2 separate regions of the Homo sapiens genome follow, and region 2 is linked to region 1. Evidence: promoter capture Hi-C in 16 types of primary human blood cells and fetal thymus (Javierre and others, 2016). All regions are on one chromosome and are shown on one strand. The core of a region is centred on a gene start or on the middle of the fragment in contact, and the rest is flanking DNA. Distances in the headings are between cores, read along the strand shown. Region 1 holds the start of BEAN1 (brain expressed associated with NEDD4 1). Region 2 overlaps BEAN1 (brain expressed associated with NEDD4 1).

Region 1 (4,270 bases), core at 1,771-4,270:
GAAAATGCATACGTTTAGGAAACAGCGTGTGTGCAATGCATGTTCACAATGTTGACACTGCAGGCCACTGGCAGAGGTCCACTGGACATGGCTATGTGCTATCTGTATATGATTTCTTCATCCTCACACTATTCTGGGAGGTGTGTAACATTTATTCCCATTTTCAAGAGGGAACTGAGGCTTTGAAAAATAAGTCACCTTCCCAGAACCACATGCTATAAACCCAGGCGGTCCAGCTCCAAAAAACTGCTCTCAGCCGTGACTCTTGTTTGTGCCTGCTTGCTAATGGACTGCAGAAGCCCTCCTGGCCTCAGTTTCTCCCTTTAGGAGGCTGACAGCAGATGCCCCTCACCCTATCCTCTGAGTACTTCCAGGGCAAGAGTTTCAGACAATGGTCCTCTGAGGGTGTCCGGCTGATTATTCCTAAAGCCTGACAGTAATGCCTGCATCCCCGTCACATTCCCCACTGGCTGTGTTCCAAATCCTGAGCGAAGCAGGAGACTCAAGCCTAATTAGTTCCTGATTAACTCCTTTGGGAAGATGAGGAGTGAGGATTTTGGAAGACACAGCGACGTGACCCCTAGTGGGTGAATGGGGAAGGGGAGGGGGAAGCTACAGAGGAAGAAGAGGAGAGAGGGAGATTCCGTGTAGGAGGCCCCAGGTGGCAGCTCATCTTGCCTGTCTTACCAGGTGTACCCTGGCACCATGTGGACATGTTTCCTCATCTGAGATTCCTCCCCCATCCCTGTTCTGGGCAGCTGGGCCAGAACACCCACACAGCACAGGTGGCCAGGGACCAACATGGGTGTGAACTGGACCACTGCTTTCTTCCCATCACTCCTGCCCGCCCACCCGCTCCTTGCCACCTCCAGGATCCCAGCATCCTCCCCTATCCCCTGGGCCTATGCCCTGCTCTGCTCTGGGTCTAAGGTCCCAGCCACACAGACTGGAGCAAATCCCTTCCTGGGGACACCCTGCTCTGAAGTTTGAACCTCTCAATCACTGGCTCCATTTCCTCCCCGACATCCTTCATTTCTGGTGCCTCATGGCCCAGTTGCCTGGACGAATACATCATAGTCTGCGAAGAATCAAGGCTGGGACCCCTCAGACCTCTAGGCTGTCTCCCTGGTGCTTCTTGCTGCCTGTCTGAACCGTCACCATCGGTGTGTCCAAGCCACCTGACAGCCTGATGGCTCCTCAGGGAAAGCAATCCTCCACCCGGGAGTGGAGGGAGGTGTTAAATTCCCTTGTACGGAGCTCGAGCAATGGGTGGGTGCCCCTCTCTGGGGCAGCGGACATCAGCTAAGGGCAAGGAGGAAAAGGGTGCACCTTACAGTCAGATGCAGCCTTTTCACCCTGGAGAGAGATGGGAGGTAGCAGGGGAGAACTGGGCTGGGCGGTAGAGAGCCTTGGAGGAGGGAGCGTCTGAGAAAGGGTGGGCCCTAAGGAGAAAGTTTTGCTTTGCAATTAAATGTCAACAGCTTGGGGAATTCAAAGGCCTCCTTGGAGGGGGCTGGGAGCACCACTTCAGATTCAGAGGCACTGAATCTCAGCATCTACTGGTGCTGGACACCTCAGGACACCTGTAGCCCACCACAATTGGCCACTGGCTGCGTGCCAGGCACCAGGCTACATACCCTCACCAGCATCATCTCATTTAATCCTCCCAACTCACCTTCCCCATGTTCCAGATGGGGAAACTAAGGCTCAGAGAGGTTTGTGTCTTGCTTAAGGTTGTACAGCCAGGAAGTCAGCCAAGCCCACCTTCTGGTTCCAAATCCCTTAAACATCCCGCTCACAACAGACTCCTGCTTACTTTCAGATGAGGAAACTGAGGCACAGGGTGGTGAAGTCTCTCGTTCCAGCAGAGCAGTTATGTTTGAGGAGTGAGTCCAGAGCGGCATGCTCTCGGCAGGGGCTCATCGGAAATCGTGGCTCAAGAGCAAGGATCCCTGAACCCCTGCCTCTCACACCAGTTACTTGCGCCCTCCCTTTCCCAGCCTGCGCCCCGCCACCCACGCCGGCACCCGCCCGAGATGGACAGGGCAGTCCCTGGTCCTCACCGCTCTCCAGCCTCCAGACCGCAGAGCCCGATAGGGAAGGAGGAAGGGCAGCGAGAGTCAGCCGGGTGTGGGGTGGGCCCTGCCCCTGGGGAGCGGCGGCGGTGCCACTCAGCGCTGCGCAGCCAGCCTGAGCTGCCTGCCGCCTCGCCTCGTACTCAGCCTCGGGTCCCTCTGACAGCGCAAGGGAAAGTCTGTCCCAAAGTGGGAGAAGGTGCGGAGGGCGCGCTCTCTCTCCGACGCTCGGTGCTGAGACAGAGGCACGGAGACAGGGGCATACCCCAGGCGACCTGCTCGTCGAAGGGTCAAACTTCCTAGCTCAAAGGGGTGCGGGTGGGTTCAAACTCCAAACTCCGTGAAGCCCCAGCCCCTTTCCTCTCCCACCCCGACCGAGAGTGCGCCCTAGTTTTCCCTTCTTGGTTGGGTTGTTCAGGGGTCCCCGAAACCGAGGGCAAGCTGCTGGGGAGGCTGTCTTGGGTTCCCCAAATGCGGTTGATGCTCGTCGGGGACTCGAGTCAGGCAGAAAACCTGGATACCTCCCCTTCCCCGAGGCCCGAGGGCGCGATCAGGGTCAGCCTCGGCTCGCGCAGATCCCAGTGGCCAGCCCGGGGTCGAGGGTCCGCGGGAGACCCGGGATCCCGCTCCGTTCCGAGCGCGCTGCGGTTCCGTTCCGGACCGCGCATCCGCCCGCCCCGCGCACCGAGGCTCCGCGCGGCGCGCCCCCGGGTGTGTCGTTCGCCGGTACCACCGCAGAGCGCGGGGGAATGGGGCCGGGACCCCCCGCCCGCCCCTCCCCCGCGCCGCCCAGCCCCACGCCCCTTACTCGGCTTGGCTGCAGCGCTCCGCTCCGTGCGCCGCAGTGCCGGCTCCAGCTTCGGCTCCAGCTCCGGTTCCCGCCCCGGCTCCGGCTCCCAGTCCGGTTCCCGCTCGGAGGCCACTGCGCTCGGGCTCGGGCGTCGCGGGGGGCGCGCCGCTACGCTTCGGCCTGCTGGGCGCGCAGGGGCGGGGCGGGGCGGGCCAGGCGGGGCCAGGCGAGCCGGGCCGACCAGCCGCCCGCGATCCCGGGCCGAGGCAGCGGCGGCGGCGGCTTCCCAGGCCCCGGCCCTGGCCCTGGCCCTGCCCTGCCGCAGCCCCGCCCGGCCGCCCGTCGTCCCCGCGCCGCCGCCCACGCCACCGTCACCGGCCCCGGCCCCCCTCGGCGGCGGCGCGGCTCCCGGGCCTCAGCACCGCGGCGCCGCGGCCCGGGTCACTCCGAGATGCGGGGCGGGGGGCGCGGGTGCGGGGGAGGGCCGAGCCGCGCCCCTTTGCGCACAGCCAGCCCGACACCCACACAGCAGCAGGCGGGGCAGGGCGGCGAGGAGGCCGGGAAATGCGGGAGGCCGACGCTCCAGTCAGACGTGTGAAGAGGACACACAGGCGTGTGTAGGGAATGACACACGGACGCGAGCGGGGAGCCACTGACACGTGCAGAGAAGGGTAGACAAACGAGGTGTCAGGGAAGGACAGCCAGACAGGTTGGACCGAGGCTAGGCTGGGCATTTGAGCAGGGGACCCCTGTCGCGGGCAAAGAGCAAAGTGCGGGATGGAGAGGGGGACCCAGCGTGGCTGGGCCGCTGGCAGGGGCAGGCGAGCCTGGCAGGGCTTCCCGCTCGCGGTTGCTGGCAGGTGAGTTTTGGGATTCCAGCTAGGCCTGGCCCAAACCTTCCTTCGGAGCCACCAGCAGGCCTGTTTCCTTCACCCCGTCACCCTCCCTGTGCCCCCGTTCCCCGCTGCCCAAACGTCAGGGCATAGGGCTCAGCCCTGGCAGGTGGAAGCCGGCCCCGAGGGGATGCCTGGCTCAGGCCGGGGTTCCAGGCTTCCAGGACCTGCTCTGTCCCCACCCTGCTTTGGGGCCTTGGACGAATCCCAGCCCATCTCTCAGGCCTCCCTGTCCTCATTAGGATATTGCTCCCAATGATTGCACCCCTACTGTGTTGGGGTGCTCGCCAGCGTGGAGGAGTTATTTATTTAACCTCCGCCACTTGCCTGGGAGCGCCAGGAGGGCAGCGTCTGGGTAGGGCTGCAGGGGTCTGCACAGAGTGGGCACTCAGTGAATTTGCTGCAGGAATTGATGAAATGTGTTGTTGCTAACACTCTCTGAACCACTACTGTTGATGAGGAAACTGGGGCTTAGGAGGCAAGGGGAGTCAAAAGCTGGGTTCGTTTCAAAA
Region 2 (4,270 bases), core at 772-3,271, 34 kb before region 1:
AAGTTGTCATGATTTTGGATTTGGCAAATGATTCTTAGATACGACACCAGAAGCACAAGAAGCAAAAGAAAAATAGATAAACATCAAAATTAAAAACTAGTGCAGCAAAGGACACCTTCAAGAAAGTGAAGAGACAGTCGGTAGAATCGGAGAAGATATTTGTGTATCACTTATCTCATAAGGGACTTTTACCTAGAATATGTAAAGAGCTCTTACAACTCAATAATAAAAAGACAACCCAATTAAAAAAATTGTCAAAAGATCTGAACAGACATTTCTCCAAAGAAGATACAATTGGCCAGTAAGCACATGAAAAGTTGCCCAACATCATTAACCATCAGAGAAATGCAAATCAAAGCCACAATGAGATACCATTTCACACCCAGTAGGATGGCTATAATCAAAAAGACAGATAATGCCAAGTGTTGGTGAGGATGTGGAGAAATGGAAACCCTTATAAACTGCTGGTGGGAATGTAGAATGGTACAGCTGCTTTGTGAACACAGACTGGCAGTTCTCAAATGGTTAAACATAATTATCACATGATCCAGCACTTGCACTCCTAGGCATATACCCAAGAAAAATGGAAACATAAGTCCACACAAAAATGTGTACATGAATATTCATGAGTATTACTCATGGTAGTCCCGCAAAGTACATGGTGCACAGCTGCCTCTTTCTCATCCTTTAGAGCTTTCCTTAAAAGTCAGCTCCTCAGACAGGTTGCTCCTGACTGACCTCTACCCCACTATATATCATGCCATGTGTTTTCTTTGAACAGCAGTCATCACAATCCCTAAACATCCTGCTTATTTATTTGTTTACTTGTTTATTAAATTGTGATGTCTTTGGATTCCCTGTCCACCTCATTTGATTGTTAGATCTTTGAAGGCAGATATCCCATCTGTCCTGACTTTTTTTTTTTTGAGACAGTTTTGCTTTTGTTGCCTAGGCTGGAGTGCAATGGCGCGATCTCAGCTCACCGCAACATCTGCCTCCTGGGTTCAAGCAATTCTCCCGCCTCAGCCTCCCAAGTAGCTGGGATTATAGGCATGTACCACCATGCCCAGCTAATTTTGTATTTTTAGCAGAGACAGGGCTTCACCATGCTGGCCAGGCTGGTCTCGAACTCCTGACCTCAGGTGATCCACCCGCCTCGGCCTCCCAAAGTGCTGGGATTACAGGTGTGAGCCACTGCCCCTGGCCTTGTCCTGACTCTTTTATTGCATGAATCTGCAGCGCCCAGCCAGGTGCTGGGCACATAATAGGTGCTCATTAAATATTTGTTGGGTGACTGAGTGAACTGCAGAAAACTTAGTTGGCTCTGTGTCTGTCTCTTCATTAGTCTAGAATTCAGTTTCTTCTCTATTTTTTGACTGATTGTGACAGCTTGAGTTTTGGATGAAGTGCCAACCTCTAATTTTTATTCCCTTGGCTACTGTAAACTAAAGCTTGTAATTTTTCTTCAAGACTCACAGAGAAAAGGTGGCAAGGTGAGGCTCTCCTCCATCTTTTTCTTGTAGGCAAATGGAGTCAGTTTAATTTGGCTTGTTTGACCTCAACTTAGGAGAAATCTAGTCCTTGTCTGGTGAATCTATAGCATACCTGCCACCACTTTCTAAGTCTATGCCAATGGCAGACATTACTAATTGACCATGGTTCTCTTTCCAGTTCAGTTCAGAAGGCAGACTCAGCATCCTTCTCAACACAGCACTCCATGCTGTGACTACAACTGGCTAGAGCTGGTTATGAAATGGAGCTTTTGGCTACCACTCATCTAGCATGATCCCGGTTCTCCCTGCTACCACTCCTGAGCCAATGGCCACTCTGATTGCTCTCTGTCATGCGTCCTCTCACCTTCAGAGCCCAGGGCAGGACTTGGGAGTGTTAGGGACACCAGCCCTCCTTAGGGAGGGTAGTGTGAGGGGTTCACACTCTGTAGAATAGTGGGCTGGCTCCAAGAGTCTTGTCCCCGATGGGGCTCTGGAATGTCTTCTGACCCCAGATGTGGGTTGGGACACACTGGTCACCCCATGATCCCCCATGACCCCTGGCCATGGCAGGGTTGCAGGTGCTTAGATTGCAAACCTAGAGTTGGATGTGCGTGCGTTTGTGTGTGTGTGTGTGTGTGTGTGTGTGTGTGTGTGTGTGTGTGTCTGCGCCTGCCTGCCCTGCACAGCACGCAGAACCTGCCTCTGGGACCAGCCCCATGGGGTCACCTTGAAGATGCCTCTCCCTTCACCTGCGTCAGCAGCAGATGAGAGCCTTGCCCTTGTCTAGCAGCACCAGGCTCATTACCAGATGGGCGGGAGATGGCATCACCCATGCCTGCAAGATGGAGCCAGCTGGTGCAGGCATCCGCCTGCTTGGACAGCTAGGAAATTAATCTCCCAGTCACCACAACCGGCAGAGGTAGGCGCTGCTTTAAATTATGAGGGAAATTCTTCCAATTTCCAAAACAAGGGCCTATTTTATCAAAAAGATAAATATGACTGCAGAGAAATAACATGATGACAATCCCCCTTCCCACCCCCGGTCTCCCTGTCCCCCTGTACCAGCTGCAGCAAGGATAGAAGATGAAACAAGCTTTGCCTCCTTCCTGGACTTTCTTCCCAAGCAGTTTCTATAAAGGTGCTCATGATCCAGTGGAAACCTCAAAAAAATAGGCTCTTCTCTGAGATACCACCTCCCCCCCAATGCCAGCATGAGTAATTACCATCTCCTGAGCACCTACTGTATTGTATGCCTTACACCATACGTGGTACTTGTCATGCACCACATTATCTCATTTAATCCTCATGATGGTCTATAATGGGATTCCCCAGTTAACAGGTAAGGAAACAGCCTCAGAGAGGTTAAGTAACTTTCCCAAGGTCACACAGCCCCACAGATAGAGACCTGGGTCAGTGAAAAACTGAAGCCCTGTGCTCTTAGCCAATATGCTATTCTGTGGCTACCAGGCACCATGCACTGGGAGTTCTGGTTTCTTAACTCTTGTGAAGGGAGAATGCTCTTCTCCCCAAAATGATGTTTTGCTTCTTCTGAGCCACTTGATATATAGCCAGAGCCAGCCATGACCTGGGGCTATTCAGGATGAAGGTGTATCAACAGCTGAACATTGCCATAAGATACCAGGATTCCAGAGATGGGAGCCTGTGTGTCTCAGAAAGAGATGGGCCACAGCAGGCAGGTGCCTGGGGAGAAGCAAATCATCCAGGGATGTGCGAGGACCTCCTGTTCTGTATCTGTTCTATCTCTGGGTATGTCCTAGAGATGTTCTAGATTGCAGGTAGGGACCCTTGGGTGATTTTACTGAGGAAGAACAATGATAAAGATAAGATAGCTCTCACTGACAGCACTTACTGTACATCCATCAGGCTCTAAACTCTTTTCATGCATGCTTCTCTCATTTAATCTTCACAGCAGCCCTGAGAGGTGGAGAGTGTCTTTCCTCCATCTTACAGAGAGGGAAGCTGAGCACAGAGCTGGTTAAAGTGGTGAGCCTGGAATGCTCTTTGCAATTCCTGAACTGGCACTCTCCAGCGCTCTGGTTCCACAGGGACTGAGAACACCAGGAGGGTGGGGCCTGTGTCTCTCTCTCTTGTCACCCCATCTGCCTAGGATACTGGGCAGGGCCAGTGCAGAGAGGAAGCTCAGGAGCCATTTGAATTGGACCAGGGGCAGTCTGTGACTGGTTGCTTGGTGTGCACGGTGTGCCTGAGTGCATCCCAGGGGAGCTGCTCCCAGTCACCCATTGGCCCATCCTTCCGTCCATCACCCACCCAACCCCCACAGCCCAATCGTGGGATCCACAGACATTTACAAGGAGTGGCAGAGTGTCGGAACAGAGTAGGTGCTTTCAGCCAGAAGAGCAAGTCAGGACTTAAAGAGTCCTGGTCTGGAATGGGCTGCCCATCAGTGATAAATCCGTCTGGCAAATTCCATTATAGGAGAATCTTGGGGCCCTGCTGAGGACTTGATGCATTTGAGGAATCACAAGAGAGGAGGAGGCTGGAGAGAAGCCTGCTGGGGGCTAAGTTTGGAGGGGCTTGCAGGGACCATACCGTGAGGGGTCTTCAAGGTCACATCAAGAGACTGTCCTTTGGGACAGGTGCAGTGGCTCATGCCTGTAATCTCAGCACTTTGGGAGGCTGAGGTGGGTGGACCACCTGAGGTCAGGAGTTTGAGATCAGCCTGGTCAACATGGTGAAAACCTGTCTCTACTAAAAATACAAAAAATTAGCCTTGCATGGTGGCAGGTGCTTGTAAT

Evidence for each region. Contacts are between HindIII fragments. The CHiCAGO score rates a contact against its expected background, and 5 or more counts as called.
Region 2: a contact is called between a fragment that was not itself captured here and the fragment with the promoter of BEAN1 in region 1, in 12 of 17 cell types (naive CD4 T cells, total B cells, activated CD4 T cells and 9 more). The highest score is 8.4, in naive CD4 T cells.

What each region holds. Positions count from the first base shown.
Region 1 is chr16:66,426,045-66,430,314 of GRCh38, reverse strand. It overlaps BEAN1 (brain expressed associated with NEDD4 1), which reads right to left and starts at 3,020. Exons shown (of 5, transcript NM_001178020.3): 1 at 2,884-3,020. RefSeq lists an enhancer at 1,592-2,192. The HindIII fragment of the contact is 13,321 bases long and covers 1-4,270 here.
Region 2 is chr16:66,459,456-66,463,725 of GRCh38, reverse strand. All of the region lies in intron 2 of BEAN1 (brain expressed associated with NEDD4 1), which reads right to left. It also overlaps the pseudogene LOC107984807. Among named protein-coding and RNA genes, the nearest start is that of BEAN1-AS1, 15 kb to the left of the region's middle. The HindIII fragment of the contact is 1,135 bases long and covers 1,454-2,588 here.